Regions from separate parts of the Homo sapiens genome. Here all the other regions are linked to region 2. Evidence: promoter capture Hi-C in 16 types of primary human blood cells and fetal thymus (Javierre and others, 2016). All regions are on one chromosome and are shown on one strand. The core of a region is centred on a gene start or on the middle of the fragment in contact, and the rest is flanking DNA. Distances in the headings are between cores, read along the strand shown.

Evidence for each region. Contacts are between HindIII fragments. The CHiCAGO score rates a contact against its expected background, and 5 or more counts as called.
Region 1: a contact is called between a fragment that was not itself captured here and the fragment with the promoter of ERCC8 in region 2, in 7 of 17 cell types (activated CD4 T cells, total CD8 T cells, total CD4 T cells and 4 more). The highest score is 10.1, in activated CD4 T cells.
Region 3: a contact is called between a fragment that was not itself captured here and the fragment with the promoter of ERCC8 in region 2, in 1 of 17 cell types (total CD4 T cells). The highest score is 5.9, in total CD4 T cells.
Region 4: a fragment that was not itself captured here is called in contact with the fragment with the promoter of ERCC8 in region 2 in 5 of 17 cell types (activated CD4 T cells, total CD8 T cells, non-activated CD4 T cells and 2 more); the score reaches 7.3 in activated CD4 T cells.
Region 5: a fragment that was not itself captured here is called in contact with the fragment with the promoter of ERCC8 in region 2 in 2 of 17 cell types (non-activated CD4 T cells and activated CD4 T cells); the score reaches 5.9 in non-activated CD4 T cells.

The regions. Positions count from the first base shown.
Region 1 is chr5:61,338,080-61,341,314 of GRCh38, reverse strand. All of the region lies in intron 1 of ZSWIM6 (zinc finger SWIM-type containing 6), which reads right to left. Among named protein-coding and RNA genes, the nearest start is that of ZSWIM6, 7.4 kb to the right of the region's middle. The HindIII fragment of the contact is 648 bases long and covers 1,139-1,786 here.
Region 2 is chr5:60,943,800-60,947,027 of GRCh38, reverse strand. ERCC8 (ERCC excision repair 8, CSA ubiquitin ligase complex subunit) reads left to right here and starts at 1,958. Exons shown (of 12, transcript NM_000082.4): 1 at 1,958-2,096. The coding sequence starts at 2,020. It overlaps NDUFAF2 (NADH:ubiquinone oxidoreductase complex assembly factor 2), which reads right to left and starts at 1,823. Exons shown (of 4, transcript NM_174889.5): 1 at 1,646-1,823. The coding sequence starts at 1,772. RefSeq lists an enhancer at 1,058-1,187. The HindIII fragment of the contact is 6,619 bases long and covers 1-2,159 here.
Region 3 is chr5:61,396,867-61,400,078 of GRCh38, reverse strand. The region is part of intron 1 of ZSWIM6 (zinc finger SWIM-type containing 6); the gene reads right to left. Among named protein-coding and RNA genes, the nearest start is that of ZSWIM6, 66 kb to the right of the region's middle. The HindIII fragment of the contact is 7,030 bases long and covers 1-3,212 here.
Region 4 is chr5:61,415,450-61,418,517 of GRCh38, reverse strand. All of the region lies in intron 1 of ZSWIM6 (zinc finger SWIM-type containing 6), which reads right to left. Among named protein-coding and RNA genes, the nearest start is that of ZSWIM6, 85 kb to the right of the region's middle. RefSeq lists enhancers at 1,045-1,671, 1,672-2,299, 2,300-2,926. The HindIII fragment of the contact is 1,578 bases long and covers 642-2,219 here.
Region 5 is chr5:61,315,518-61,318,789 of GRCh38, reverse strand. No RefSeq gene overlaps it. Among named protein-coding and RNA genes, the nearest start is that of ZSWIM6, 15 kb to the left of the region's middle. The HindIII fragment of the contact is 168 bases long and covers 1,558-1,725 here.

The DNA.
Region 1 (3,235 bases), core at 213-2,712, 390 kb before region 2:
GTAGCAGGTGGCCAGAGCCTGTCCCAGCAGCTCAGGGAGAAAGGCAGGAACCCACCCTGGATGGGATGCACCCCCATTGTAGGGCACACTCACACACACCCACACTCATTCAGACTGGGGCCATTTAGATGGGACAATTTGCCTTAAGGTGCACATCTTTGGGATGTAGGAGGAAACCAGAGTACCCAAAGAAAACCCACGTAGACACAGGCCGACCATGCAAACTCCACCCAAGATAATGGCCCTGGCCAGAACTGACTTTTTTATTTTCTCATCAATGACATAGTGACACAATGTTATTCAAGGACTTGCTGTATAATCACACAGCTGTAATACAGTTTTGTAGTTAACAATCCTTTTTCTGAACTTTAATCTCAAACATTACTACGATTTCCAAATATCCACAAATGTTTTACACTAGCATGAACTGAGCATGCTAGAACCACTACTGCACTGCAGCCATTAGAATTTAGCCTGAAACTAAAATGCTATCTAGGAATACATTTATTAACATTCAATAAATGTTAGCCAAATAACCCCTCCAAAGAGTTCAAGTTACATTCAAGAATATGCTTGATTTCAGAGACTACCAAACTAAGACACGGCCCAAACAGTAGGAAAAATAAGCAACACGGCTTTGCCATTTCCTATGCCACTCTAAACAATTTACTCAACGAGTTTGGGCCTCAGTTTTCTTACCAGGAAAATGGGAAAAACTGAAATTGAAGTTATCTTTTTATCTCTGAAATCTCCATAGCTCCACTAGTAGATAACAACTATAATGCAAGAGTATTTTATTTACAAAAATACCTTTCCTCTTTCAGCATATTTTAAGAAGAAATGAACTGTGGATCTGTACAGAGGGGTCACTGAAATATGCATGTGGTTACAACATTCAAATTACACCTGGGTTAATTTGTCTCCTTTTCTGTTCACCTGTGGACATCATCACATATATATATTTGTAGACATATATACACACATACATTAGCTGACACAAAATTAGTTAAGCGAATTCCGCAGACATAAAACATTTAGCATACTCAAGCAACAGTTTACTATCAGCTGAAAGTCAATCTTTCAGTCAGCTGAAAGTTCAAAATGACAAGGAATTTTGCACCGTATTGTCTCTGAAGCTTGCTTTAGGGATCTTTTCTAGATGAAAAAAAATAAGGAAATGTCCTATTTTTAAAGAACTGAAAAGCAAGTACAAAGCATATTCTTAGAGGAACACAGGGCACTGAAAGCAAAAACTGAAAAGACAACCAGGTTTTTATCTAACAGACACACTTTACTTTTGAGATCTGGGTAGGATTGACAAACAAAACGTCTCTTCACAAGACAAGACTCAGTAACACTTTTCTCCAAATTATCATTTGATACTGATTTTTTCAAAGCACATGCACTTAAAGAGGGAAACAGTTCGTGGTTTTGAATTTAAAGTAATCCCCAAATATTTACATGTTAAAAAATTAATAAATCACAAAAACTAAATTAGCCTTTTTGTTGTGACAAAGCACTATTTTAAAAATTATACCACAGTAATTTGAAAGGTAGCTAAAAACGGTTTTGTGGGTTTCATACTGTTTACTACCTTTTTAAAAAGACCTGCCTATAACCCGCTTTGTTTCTAAGATATTTATAGTTACCTATAATCTTTCATTTTTAGGATATTTGTGCTCTTAAATATAACAGTTTAAGTCAACAACAGTTTGAGTTTAATGATTGCCCCTATAAAAATTTCTAACACTGAGTTTGTTTTATCATATGTATATGTAAGTAAGCTTCTTAAAATAAAGGTACCAAATTTATTTTGCCTCAGTGAAGAAAATTTACAGTCTAACACAAAAAAATATAAAGCATGTGGAAATAGTACAGATCCAGTCATGTGATTTTTTTTTTGAGACAGGTTCTCGCTCTGTCACCCAGGCTGGAGTACAGTGGTACAATCTCGGCTCACTGCAGCCTGCAGCCTCCACCTCCCAGGTTCAAGCGATTCTCCCGCCTCAGCCTCCTGAGTAGCTGGGATTACAGCGGTGTACCACTACGCCCGGCTAATTTTTGCATTTTAGTAGAGATAGGGTTTCACCATGTTGCCCAGGCTGGTCTCATGTGATTTTTCAAAGGGACAACTCTTATAAAACAAAACATGTCATTCCTACACTGCCTATTACTGAACACATTACTAGCTGAAATCACACATTCTTAACCGTGAATATGAGTGTAAGCAGAAAGAGATGCTGGTCCATATCTTTCCATATGAAACATTCATAGGGTTAGAATTGAGACAGCAATTGATTATCCATTTTTGTGGAAAAAAAAGAGGCCCAGGATAAAAATCTTAAAAATCAGTGAGGACATACTTAGAACAATAATGACTTAAACTGTTCAATTAATTGCAATAATTCTATTAAAGGACATGTTCCAAGGGCATCCTGATGTTTCTAAAAAGGCAGGCATCAGTCTCACAACCGCAAAATAGATGAAACTCAATGCAAAGTGGAAAAAAAATAATGAGGATAGCCTTTTCAATCCCAGGGTGTACTTGTAACACAACTGAGTTGCAAGAAATTAAAGACTTTAAAAAGAATGAAAATGTTTGCTTAACCCAAATCCGCCATTTTCACCTTCCATTATTGTCACTGTCTCTTGAACATTTTAGATTTTCTCAATGGAGCAATATTATCCTTCAGAGAACTAAGTATGATAACAAATTCCAAGTATTCCTAAAACTGAAAATTTAACTTCCTTCAGAACAACACTAAGGACCTATCAAATACTGAAATACTTTCAAAAATCACTTACATAAATCAAACATCTCAACTCACACAAAAGAACAATAAAAAATACCTATGCAACTGGTTTCAAAATGTATTGTGTATTTCATTAATCAAAAGGCAGAAAAAGGGTAGGATCTGACATAAAATTATTCTATATTAACCTTGAAAAAGCATTCAATGAAATGTACTATCAATAAACAAGCATCCAATTTTCAATGTGCATTCAGAATCGTCTTTATTTAGTGATCTCTAGTCTGTAAAGAAAAATCAAAATATTCAAAAACCAATAAATTATCTGACTGAAATTTGTACCCATCTTAATTCTAATAATGTTCTTTTACTGCTTTGCCACCCCCACAAAAAAAAAAAACACACAAAACTTTAAGTTATGAATATGAAAAGAGTGTAAGAATGTGTTTACCAGAATGTTATGTGGAATGCTGGGCGATATTCTT
Region 2 (3,228 bases), core at 709-3,208:
CAGCTTGTGAACAGATAAACTGGCAAACCCATACAATGGAATACTACTGAGCAATAAAAAGGAACAACTACTGACACATGGATGAATCTCAGCTACATTATGCTATGTGAAGCAAGCCAGACTCAAAAGTCTAAATCCTGTATAATTCCATTTATATGATATTCTAGAAAAGACAAAACTATAGGCCCATAAAACACATCAGTAGTTGCCAAAGGGTGTGGGAATGAACTACTAAGGAGTTGGAGGAAATTCTGATGGTGATGGAATTATTCTATTACTTGAATCCAGTGAGGTTACTCTACTCATTTGTCAAAAACAATAAAACTGTACACCATAAAGGGTGAATGTTACTGTATGTAAATTATATTTCAATTTAAAAAAACTCAGTCTGACAGTTTGCATATTTTTAATTTTACTGACAACTTATGGAAAAGAAACATCTCTCTGCTTGCAACCTGTCAAGAAATACTTAACACCATGCTATGTTCTTTGCAGGCTTTTTTCTTTTTTTGTGAGACATATTCCCTGCCTGACAGAGGAGCTCATTAGGGAAACAAGTCTAAATATTAAAATAAGTTACAGAAAAAGGCCAGGCAAAAATAAATTAATTGAGTGATAAATCACAGAATACATTTTATATGTGTGGGAAATGAATGGCACATAATCTTGGAAAGGTCTTAGTGCTTCTCAACATTGCTGATCTTATATTATCTCTAACTTTCAAGTGAGGATGTTGAGACTTGGAGAGGACAAGTACTTTTTCCGTGATTCCCGAGCTATCAGGTGTCAAAGCTGAGATTCTAACCCACGCCTCTTCGCCCAAAACCTGACATTTTCTGCATGCGGCGATGGAACAACACAGAAGAGGTTACGACGGCGGCTACACAGTGTGATTTCAATGGACAGCAACGCCTCCTTACTCCCCAAACAACCCGCTCAACTACTTGGCACGAATCCTACACAGTAACACCATGATTATTGCCACGTTTCTTAAATTGAGCTCAACGGGGTCTTGGAATGTCAACTCCCGAGAAAGGAATCAGCGAGCCTTGTGGGGATATGGACCTACTTCTGACAAGTCTTGGTAGTAAGGAAGGCGCATGGGGCCAGCGCCGGAGCCAGGGTGCCACCGAAAAGGGTAAACACCAAGAAAGAAGACAGCCGAGGCGCTGAAGATACTCCTCTTCAATTACACCACTCAGCTCTGGGTCACAAGGCGGGGAACAGCGTACGAAAAACCCCTCCCCTGGCCCTTCTAGCCCCTTTGGTGAAAGATTTCCGTGGACTTTTCCCTGCCTCCGTCGCCAGTCCAGGGCTAAAACTGAGGCTCCTCTACAGGCGTGGCTGGGAGGAAAGTGGTGGTGCGCCTTAACAGCGCAAGCAGCCCGGGGCACGCCGGGGGAAGGCGCTGGGTAGTAGGGACCGCGGACGCACGAGGCCGGGCCAAGGCGCCCAGAGCCGGGCCGGGTAGGGCTCCGATGCCAGAGTGAAGGGGTCGACAGGGGAGAACGAACTCGGGAAATTCTCTCCGGTGACACCCTAAGTGTCGCATGATGCGTTAGTTGACTAGGGGCTCTCACTTTTCCCTCCTTTACTGACCTCGCAATCACTGACCACGCAATCGCTGCCCACGCCGCCACCTCACCTCTCCAGTTCTTGTACTGCGGGATGTAGTAGTATTTGTTCCCGAATTGGTCCGTGCCCACGTGCTCCTTCACTTCCCTTGACAGCGATCTCCACAAGGCGCGGAACAAATCCTGAGACCAACCCATGCCGTCCACCCAGTTTCCAGCGCTGCCAGCAGCGGGACCCGCAGTAGGGGTAATGCTCCAGCCGCCGACCCAGCCCACCGAGGCGGAGAAGTCAGGTCGGCCTCCATCCTGGAGCCCTTCTAGTAACGGCGCTCACCATTGGCCGGATATATCACCGACTGACCAATGGGAGACTCTGCTGTTCCAGTCCCGCCCCTGAGCTCTGTCATGGCGACGTCCAGTGCTCCAGCCGGTGTGAGGACACGATATGCTGGGGTTTTTGTCCGCACGCCAAACGGGTTTGGAGGACCCTCTTCGCCTTCGGAGAGCAGAGTCAACACGGAGGTAAAGAAAACCTTACTTTTTGGCTAACAGGCCAGTTAGAATCTGGACCAATGACTGTAAGCTTTGCCCCACACTTTCCCGTCTCATCGCTCTCCTGCCACCAAACTATTATTTGCCCTCTAATGCTGTGTGGCTTGCTAAAATAGGATCCCTTTTATTTACTGGTAACAACTTGCAGGCGGGGGGCGGCGGGGGTGGGGGGGGTTCCCCGGGGGTGGGGGGGGGGTTCCCCCGCGGGCTCAGGTGAAGACACTATAAACCTAAATAAGAATACTTCGTTGTACTGTATTCCTTCTCTCTTAAGTTACTCCAAAGAATAACTGCCCTCCACGGACTCGTTCATTCATTCAGTCTGCATATTTAGTGAATTCCTACAGTGTGCCAGGCAGCCTATTAAAGGCAGAGGACACAGGCCAGGAATTGAACAAAGTTCAGAATGACTAGAGCGGAGAATTGGGGTAGGGACCATTGACAAGAGATGAAGTAGACAGAAACTAGATGAGGAAGAGCCTTGTGTACTTGAGTAGAGGTGTGAAGATGAGAATAAGGTAACAGCTATTGCATTTTGTTTTCTGCTTGGAGAATGGGTTGCAACTGAGAACAAGAGTGGGAGCCAAGTTAGGTAACTGTTGTGATTACACTTGTCCGGGAGAGAGTTGTTGGAAGCCTGGGCCACAGAGTTGCCAAGTAGAATAAAGATAGTGGAGAGATTTGAACAACGTCTGAGAAATAGAATCAACAGGCCATGGAAATTGAGTGGATACGTGAATGACAAAAAGAGAAGAATGAATAATGATTCCCAGATCTATGCCTTGTATAAGAAGTTGAATGTTGGTAATATACTCTGAGAGAGGGTTTTCCAAAGGGAAGAAGCAAGTTGTACTTTTAATTTTGCCCACATTAATTGAGGAACCTGTGAAGATATTTACTTGGAGAACACAGTTGCTTATGAGTTCTGCGTTCTGGAGAAATTTAAATATTAGTTTCCAACATTTTATCCATTACGTTTTCAATGTTGTGAAATATCTCTGAGAGTTCCTTTAATGTGTTTTTTTTGCCAGTGTCACTTCCTCTGACACATCATCAGCCTTTCATCACAATCACTTTTCCTCATTTATGTCTATAAGTTCAC
Region 3 (3,212 bases), core at 535-3,034, 450 kb before region 2:
TGGAGATGTAATGGCGACCTGTCAAGACTGCTTCAAAGATCACGTCCATGCCCCTCAGGAAGGTTGCACAAAGCTACTTCCAACCCTGTGATTCCGTAATTCTGGAGATCATCTATACCCCCGAGTGTACAGGTAGGAAAACTAAAGCCAGATCTGCAAACTGCCTTGTTTAGTTATAACAATCATTAAACAGCAAAACCAGGACCAGAGGGCAGTTTTCCAGGGTCCCAGATTTGTGCTCTTTACTCTGTTCCAATCTTTTCACTCCAGGTATCAGGCCAACCTGACCAGGCCACCTACAGAGGAAGTATTTTCTTCTTACAAGTTCATTCAGACGTGGGAAGTAGAAATTGGAGAAACCAATTACAGTGTTTAGGACAAGAGATTTTGATTGTTTTTCATTTCTTTTTGTAATGTTCAAAGTTACTCAGATAGCCAAAGAAACACCAACCCTGAATGTACACTGATACTGTACATGTGTCCCCACTAAGAATTTAGCTCTGAGGGCTTTGTAACCAGAGGATTCTGGTCCCTCAGGAACACGAAGATGAAGCCTCACTGTGCTTAAACCTTCTGTCCAACTCAGTAGGTGTTGACAGATTGTGGAAAAGGCAAAAGAAGGTCTTATGTTTTCACTTCAGTCAAAAGACAGAGATGGAATCTGTTCTGGTAAATAAAGAGGAGATTTCAGTATGTGAGACAAACTGGAATGCCAATGTTAGTAATTTTCTCAACGAAGTCACATATTAGGATTTAATCCATAATTAGACAAACTCAGTGTTTTCAAATAAAACACATTTTTCAAATAATAGACACTGATTATCTTTAAAAAAAAAAAAAAAAAAAACATACACAGCCAGGCGCAGTGGCTCACACCTGTAATCCCAGCCCTTTGGGAGGCTGAGGCGGGTGGATCACCTGAGGTCAGGAGTTTGAGACCAGCCTGCCCAACATGGAGAAACCCCGTCTCTACTAAAAAAATACAAGAATTAGCCTGGCATGGTGGCATGCGTCTGTAGTCCAAGCTACTTGGGAGGCTGAGGCAGGAAAATCACTTGAAACCAGGAGGCGGAGGTTGCAGTGAGCAGAGATCGCACCACTGCACTCCAGCCTGGGTGACAGAGCGAGATTCTGTCTCAAAAAAAAAAAAAAAAAAAAAAAAAAAACAACTATACACAACTTGCTCTCCTTCAGCCCCCTGCCCTACCATTCCGCCATAAGCTCAAGGTCATCCTTCCTTCTCTCACTAAAAAGCATCCTAATGACACCAGTACACAAATTCAGTTTGCTTCATAACTCAGAGAAATTTATTCTCAGAACTGAAATTATACAATGTTTACTTTAATCCTAAAATCAAAATTGTAATGAACCTCTGCTGGGGCTAATCAGGTACCACAATACTGTGCTATGCATTTTTTAAGCACGTTGATAAATATTTTATTGAATTTTACAGATAAGGAAAAACGAGGTTCCAAGAGATTAAGTTACTTGCCCAGGGTCAAGAGTTACTAAGTGCTGGAACCAGGATTCAAATGCAGAACTTAAGGCTCCCAAATCTTAAACACTATACAACATTGCCTGGCTAGTTGCTCAAGGAGAGCTGATGCTATAAAGGCGGCAGTCCCCAACCTTTTCGGCACCAGGGACCGATTCATGAAAGACAATTTTTCCATGAACTAGGGGTAGGGGGATAGTTTCAGGATGAAACTGTTCCACCTCAGATCATCAGGAATTAGATTCTCATAAGGAGTGTGCAACCTAGATCCCTTGCATACACAGTTCACAATAAGGTTCACCCTCCTATAAGAATCAGAATCTCTGCTGATCTGACAGGAGGCGGAGCTCAGGCAGTAATGCTCAATTGCCTGCCACTCACCTCCTGCTGTGTGGCCCAGTTCCTAGAACGCCAGGGACCTGTAGGGTTCCATGGCCCCAGGGGTTGGGGACCCCTGCTGTGAGACTCCACACTTCAACTGGAACCACAGCAAGAGAGCAGGGCCCAAGATCACTTAAGAGTTTCACAGGTATCAGATGGCAAGAAGTCCCATTCTCTGAAATACTATTGAGATTCTATTTTGCAACCAGAGGCTTACAGGACAGCAGGGAAGACTAAGTATAGACATGAAAATGATATTCCTTTTGTTTTGAAGGTAAAGTGGGAAGTCTCTTAATAGTTACATTAATAGGTAAATTTCATTTCTTTCTGTGCTAGGCACTGCGACCAAACTCCTTTTCTGTTCCCTCTCAACGTGGATTAAGTAGATTTGGACCATAAAGCCCATTCTCTACACTTGGAGTTAGTGAGCTAAAAAGGCAATAAGGACTCCATCCCCTTCAGAAGTCACTCACAACAAAAGATTTAATTCAAAATTTAGGTGAAGATTACTTCTATGCTAAAATTTTAGGAGTCATTTAACATTTTCCTTTAGTATGTTTGATTATAATTTTCAATGTGTGTGCTACTTTTGGAATTCTTTTAAAGGTTCATGTTTTTAAAACAAAGTAAACTGCCTCTTAAAAAAAAAAAGTCACTCACAACTACTTGGCTGTCACTGATGGGCTGTGCATGCCACAGTCCCTGGAGGACCCTACTGCAGGGCTGATGATTCACAGCACGTGCAGACCAACAAAAACAAACTGCCATTTTTCTCCTGAAATGAGGATTTATAGTCATGATTGCCACCCCCTGGGGGCACTTCACTGACTCCCTAATATAACACTCAAGGTGAATCTGATTAAAATCTAATTTATCAGTGGTAAATCCAATGTATTTAAATTTAAGAAAACTCATTTTGATTACATAAAAACATTTGTATAAGATGTTTTAGATATATATACAGTATTACACACAACTGGGATAATGTTTTTGGCGGACAGGAAGGTACAGCCTGAACTAATTTAATGGTTTTTAGATTGAGTCTAAACCAATGTCCAAAACTGAAAAACCTGGTTATTTCATACAACAAACAAATTCAGGCAAATATTGACAATATGGCAACAGAACTTAGTTCTAGTACCACATCTTACTGCTGAATATTGGGACAATCATGGGTAAGTCATTACCCTCTCTGAGAAGCAGTTCCCTACCTAACCTGTAAATTGGTAACAGTCATTTTAAACTCTGTAAGGGCAAACAAATTTATTGTTATTATGTTTATAATACTCCTAAGAGAATAACTATGTCCACTTCAACAATTTAATAAGGAATATTT
Region 4 (3,068 bases), core at 181-2,680, 470 kb before region 2:
GGAGGCCGAGGCTGGTGGATCAACTGAGGTCAGGAGTTCGAGACCAACCAGGTCTTGAAAATTTCTACTAAAAATACAAAAAAGTAGCCGGGTGTGGTGGCAGGCACCTGTAATCCCAACTACTTCGGACGCTGAGGCAGGAGAATCACTTGAACCCGGGAAGCGGAGGTTGCAGTGAGCCAAGATCACAACATTGCACTCCAGCCTGGGCGACAGAGCAAGATTTCGCCTCAAAAAAATAAATAAATAAATAAATAAATCATAGACTAGTTCTGTATTGAATCCTTCTTTGTGTTAAAATTATTGAGCCTTTCAAAATCCCTGGATAGGTTTTATGAGTGCTATGAACAAAGCAGTTATCATTCCCCATTCCTTTAGCATAATCTACATTCAAATCACCATATTTGGTGCTGATAAAAGGACTGGACTGCAAGTTAAAAGCCTGTAGTCCTGGTTTTGATTCTCCCACTACTAGATATTTAGACCTCTGCAAACCACTTAATTTCTCACTGCCTCAGTTATTCATATGTAAATTGATGGACTGATTAGATCACCAATAAAGTACCTTCGAATTCTAAAACTCTACCATCCTGTGATATCCTCAATGGTTTTCACTTGGTTTCAAGGTCTTTCTTGAAGCTTCCTAATAAGAAAAACCACACAGTTTGCTTATGAAGCAAAACTGTGATATGTACAATCTGCTTTAAAAATTCACAGATAAACAATCTACCCATTCTCCAAAACTCTTGAGTATATCAGTTATTTAAATATAGAAAAAGACATGCATTCGCTTATAGTATTTCAAAACAAAAGTCCTTAACTGTACAAATTTAAAAGTATGCACTTCAGTGGTAAGGATCCGATTAGCTACAGTAATGATGGAGCACCAAGAAAAGCACATGCTAACATGAACCTCTTTTGATTAGCTTTTGCTTTTCATTTATGTTTCAGACTCTACTCACACAATCCACACAGCCCCTTAGGCAGCCTTTCTAATTACTGTGTTCTACAGTTCTGAAACTGTGTCCTCTAACCATACCTAAAAACAGTACCCATAGGAAAAGAAAAAACAGCATTTCTACCCATTTGAAGGCTTCTTTGGGAACCTGCATCTATTTATACTAAAAAAATCCACTTTGAAACTGAACTTGAATAATTTTAGTTGGCACGCTTGAGTGATTTTCATTTAATAATCTCCTAAACCTGTTTAATGTAGATAATATATATTGAGGCAGGATCTTCTAACAGATATAGGCAGTGAACTCCTTTGTGAACTCAAAGTCCTTTTCATTTCTGCAACTACAGTTCCAACCTAATTTCCATTAGTCTACAGGCAGATGCTAACAAAGGTATGCGCTTTTATTTTTTTTTTCTTCGAGACGGAGTTTGCTCTTGTTGCCCAGGCTGGAGTGCAATGACACAATCTCGGCTCACTGCAACCTCCACCTCCCGGGTTCAAGCAATTCTCCTGCCTCAGCCTCCCGAGTAGCTGGGATTACAAGCATGTGCCACTACGCCTGGCTAATTTTTGTATTTTTAGTAGAGATGAGGTTTCACCATGTTGGTCAGGCTGGTCTCAAACTCCTGATCACTGACCGAGGTGATCCACCTTGCCTCGGCCTCCCGAAGTGCTGGGATTACAGGCGTAGCCACTGTGCCCGGCCTTATGCACTATTTTGTTGTCTTTCTGTTCATACTTCTCATTCATTCCCTGTCTACCTTCCTCAACTTCTGTTCTTTCAAATAGGCTTTGTGTTTTCTAGTCTTAGCAACTTATTTGTGTTTCAATTCTGTCTTGCAATCTAATGGTGGTTGCTGGCAAGGCAGCTAGCTGGGGCTAGTGCACTGCGTGAGGCCAAAGGAAGGGGCAGAGCTAAACTAAATCACTCCAAGAGGGATGGACCTACAGGGATCAAACCTTTGATTCATCTCATTGGCATGAGGTCCTAAGCACCTGGCTAAAAAGCCTGCCTGCTGGTCACTCATCACTTCTGAGAGAATCAAGAAACAGGATTCTATCATACCCCCAGGAGGAGATCAGAGGTGTATAAGCTCTAACAGGTGATATAATCAGCTAGGAGGAAGATCAAAAGCAGCATGATATCAGAGGCTGTGGCTCCTGGAAACTACTGCTAGAGTGTCTAAAATTCTTATTAAAAATTTCAAGAAGTCTCATCGTTTCTGCGGGAGGAGGGGGAGATGAAGCTGTAAAAGAAGCTTCACTAGTAGGGAAATCCCAAGAGTTATTAGAATTGACTCATCTTAACAGGGCCTTGGTGAGTTATCAGCAGGTACAACAACACTGTGAAAACCGGCCTTTCTGCCTCCTTCCTCTCTATTCCTTCCAAGAATCTGGATTAATTCAGCAACAAAGGAATGCCATTCGTTCCACAAACTCACATGCAAAGAGAACACTTCCATATAACCCTTTTTGTATCCAGTGATTCCTAGACTCTGCATACTCCTCACCCAACACAAATGTAAGAAGGTTAGATTTAGATTACGATCCACACTTTTGGTTTTATAGTAACATCAGATTGCTGGTATTCTAAGCCCTGATAAACTTATCTTGAATAACTTAAGCTCCCATTACCTTTCATTGGTAAATGTTTCATGAAGTCTTTTTTGTCCTTAACATTCTCAGTTGTTTAAAACAAACCAAAAATCTTTTTTAAAGTTTTAAAGATCCAATTATTCCTTCTGAGGTAGAATGCAGCATATACATTAACTAACTTGAGCTCATCCAGCAGCAGATACTAAGTGGCCTGTAGTTGACTGGTTATGCCATTTTTTAACTGTGCCCTTTGTGAACTGTAGAGAAATGGGGCCCAGAACCTTTATATGGCCAATCAGTCCCCATGTCATATCCATCCCAACACACAAACATATTCTTACATAGGAATCAGTAGCGTTTTTTTTTTTTTTGGAGACAGAGTCTCACTCTGTCGCCCAGGCTGGAGTGCAGTGGCGTGATCTCGGCTCACTGCAACCTGTGACTCCCTGGTTCAAGCGATTCTCCTGCCTCAGCCTCCCGAGTAGCTGGGATTACAGGCACGTGCCACCACGCC
Region 5 (3,272 bases), core at 392-2,891, 370 kb before region 2:
TGCCCACACTGCAGGCCAGTGGAACCCACCACAATTAGACTTTGCCCTGGATCCTCCAGTGCCTTAGTGGAAACACTGTAATAGCAGGAATTACTATTCCAAAGGGGAAGAAACTTGGAGAGTATGTTTGGTTAATTCTTTGGTTGCATGTGATGCTAAATACAGATATTTGTGCTGTTGGCAACATCTTAGGAAGTGATTTAACCCACTGGCATAGCCAGACATAATTTGTCATGTGGCCCTGTGATTTTAACCCCACTCGTTTCTCCCGTATGATTACTTCCATCATGTTTGTGTGTTAGTTACTTAGGACACATCTTTATTTCAGAGGCCTCGAAGTCCTACTTGACATTTCTAACTTAGAACCTAGACTTCTCCCTTCCTGAACTTATCTGCTTTCTTCAGGAACAGATCCGGGAGGCCACAAAACTAACCACCTACCTCTACTCTTCCTACTCAAGCAGTTGGACCTGGGCTGGTGTGTTACAAAACTCACCATTACGCTAGATCCTTTCCCAGCCTGGCAGGCACACCCACACAGCCACCATCAAGTATTCCCTAGGGTTAGAACAGTCCAGGGCTTTGTGAATTGGTACTCTCTTCATATCTCATATTTCAACATAACTTCCAATGAGAATCATACAGTTAGTTTTGGTTTATAAAAGTCTACTAGATCAACAACAAACAAAAACTTGGCCACTAATTTTAACCTGCAATCAAACAGCAGTTCATTCATTTAAGTTTCATCCCTTTCTTTTCCTAAATCAGTCTCGAATAAAGGGGGGGGGGGATTTTTAATGATAAAAAGTAGAAAACCGAAGAAGCAAAAGGCCCGAGATACCCCACAAATAAAGAAGCAGTTGCAGACCATTAATGATCACTAGGAATGGAATCACAGAAAGAGGTACTCAAGGGAGTTTGAAAGTTTGAAAGACCACATTCAGCCTGAACCCTCAAGAAAGTGTCTAAGAGAAAGTAGGCCAAAACAACAATGAAGTTAGGGTGAAAAAGATGTGAGTTTAGTTTTCAAAATGTCATGTCTGTATTGAGTGTCCTTTTGGTTCGAACAAGAAACAAAGAGAGAAATCAAACAGCTTCACTGACAAGCAGAGCAGTTGGCAAAGAGACCAGGGTAAAATCTTGGGAAACCCTTCAATGTGTAGCCTAAAAACAACACTAAAGAATCGTTGTATTCCTTCAGTAGAGCTCTATTTTCCCAAGTCCTACTTTCTTCATAGCAGACGATTCCCACTTTCAATCTGCTCTTAATTTTGCCCCATGTCATCACTGACACCTGGGTCTCTCTGTGGATTTCTTTCTTTGAATGTTTTTAAAGCTTCTGGGGAGTCTATTTTTATTCATTCATGCCATATATTAAACTATTTTAAGTATGATCTCAATAACATATGCTTATTAAAATATGGATTAAAAATGAATTATTAAAATAATCTACTTTATCCTGCTTATAAGCACAAAGGCTGACTTGATTCCAGAACAAGGCCATGACCAGGTAGTTTTGCCTGTGGCGACTCCTTCCAGCCGTCAAAACAGAAAGCTTCTTACTATAAAACAAAGTGAAAAGGGAGGTCTAGAGTTGTATTCATTCTCTGGGATGCTCTTGAGAGTGTAAACAGATCACCAGGTTTTCCTCAGTTGTTCCCAGTATGTACGGACATGGAAGTTTCTTTAGGGAAATACTTCTGTTACAGTGACCACAGTGAAGCTTTGGATTATCTTGAGCCTACAACACATTTTGTGAACACCATTTATTAATATCAATGTGCTTTGTTTAGGCCACCTAGAGCAATAACCACAAAAAAATTGATAAATTAGATTTAAGCAAAATAAAAAACCTCTCATGAAAAGAGACCATTAAAAAATGAATAGTCAAGACATAGACTGGAAGAAATTATTTACAAAACATAAACTTGACAGAGGACTGATATCCAGGATATGTAAAGGACTCCCACTTATTAATAAAGAGAAAACATTTTTTGAATGGATGGAAGACACTCTACCAAAGAAGATATATAAATGGCAGATAAGCACATGACAACGTGCTCAATATCTTTAGTCATTAGGAAAATGCAAATTAAAACCTGAAGTATCACTACTGCCAGGATGGCTTAAAATATAAAGACTGAATACACTAAATGTCAGCAAAGATGGGGAGCAACTGGGACTCCCATACATTGTTGATATGAACATAAAATGGTACATCAACTTTGGAAAAATAAATAGCATTTTCTTCAGAAACTAAATATATACTAGCTGTGATCCTGCAATTACATAAGTAGGTCTTTTCCTAAGGGAAATGAAAACATATGTTTATCAAAATACTTGTATAAGAGTGTTCATAGCAGCTCTATAAGTAATAGTCAAAAACTGAATACAGCCCAGGTATCCATCAAGAAGAGAACGAATGCACAGGGGCCGGGCACGGTGGCTCACTGCTGTAATCCCAGCACTTTGGGAGGCCAATGCAGGCGGATCACTTGAAGTCAGGAGTTCAAGACCAGCCTGGCCAACCTGGTGAAAACCCTGTCTCTACTAAAAATGCAGAAAATAGCCGAGTGTGGTGGTGAGTGCCCGTAATCCCAGCTACTCAAGAGGCTGAGGCAAGAGAATCGCTTGAACCCGCTTGCAGTGACCTGAGATCACGCCACTGCACTCCACCCTGGGCAACAGAGTGAAGCTCCATCTCAAAGATAGAGAGAGAGAGAGAGAGAGAGAGAGAAAATAAGTGTGCAAACTGTGGTTTAGTCATACAATGGAATACTACTTAGCAGTATAAAAGAATGAGCTACTACTGTTCACACAATAACGTCAACAAATCTCAAAAAGATTATGCTGAGTGAAAGAAGTCTTACACAAAGAATTCATCCTATTTGACCCATTCATATGAAATTATGGAATAGACAAAGCTAATCTGTGGTGAAAAAAATCAAAACAGTGGTTGCCTCTGGGTTTGGGAAAGGGATTAGGAACAGGGATTGACAGGAAAGATAAATGAGGGACCTTCCCAGGTGATGACAATATTTTATATCTCAGTAAGGGTTTGGGCACACAGGGATATATTTGTCAAAACTCCGAAACTGGACACTTAGTGTTTACAGTTTAAAATCTGTAAATTTCATATCAAATGAAAAAAGTAAATATCAAACTGAAGTTTTTAAGTAGAAATTGGTGGATGCCTATAATTTACTTTTAAACACATGAAAAAATAAGATGAATTAATGGAGGAGGGCTGTATAAATATGTGATAAAGCAAG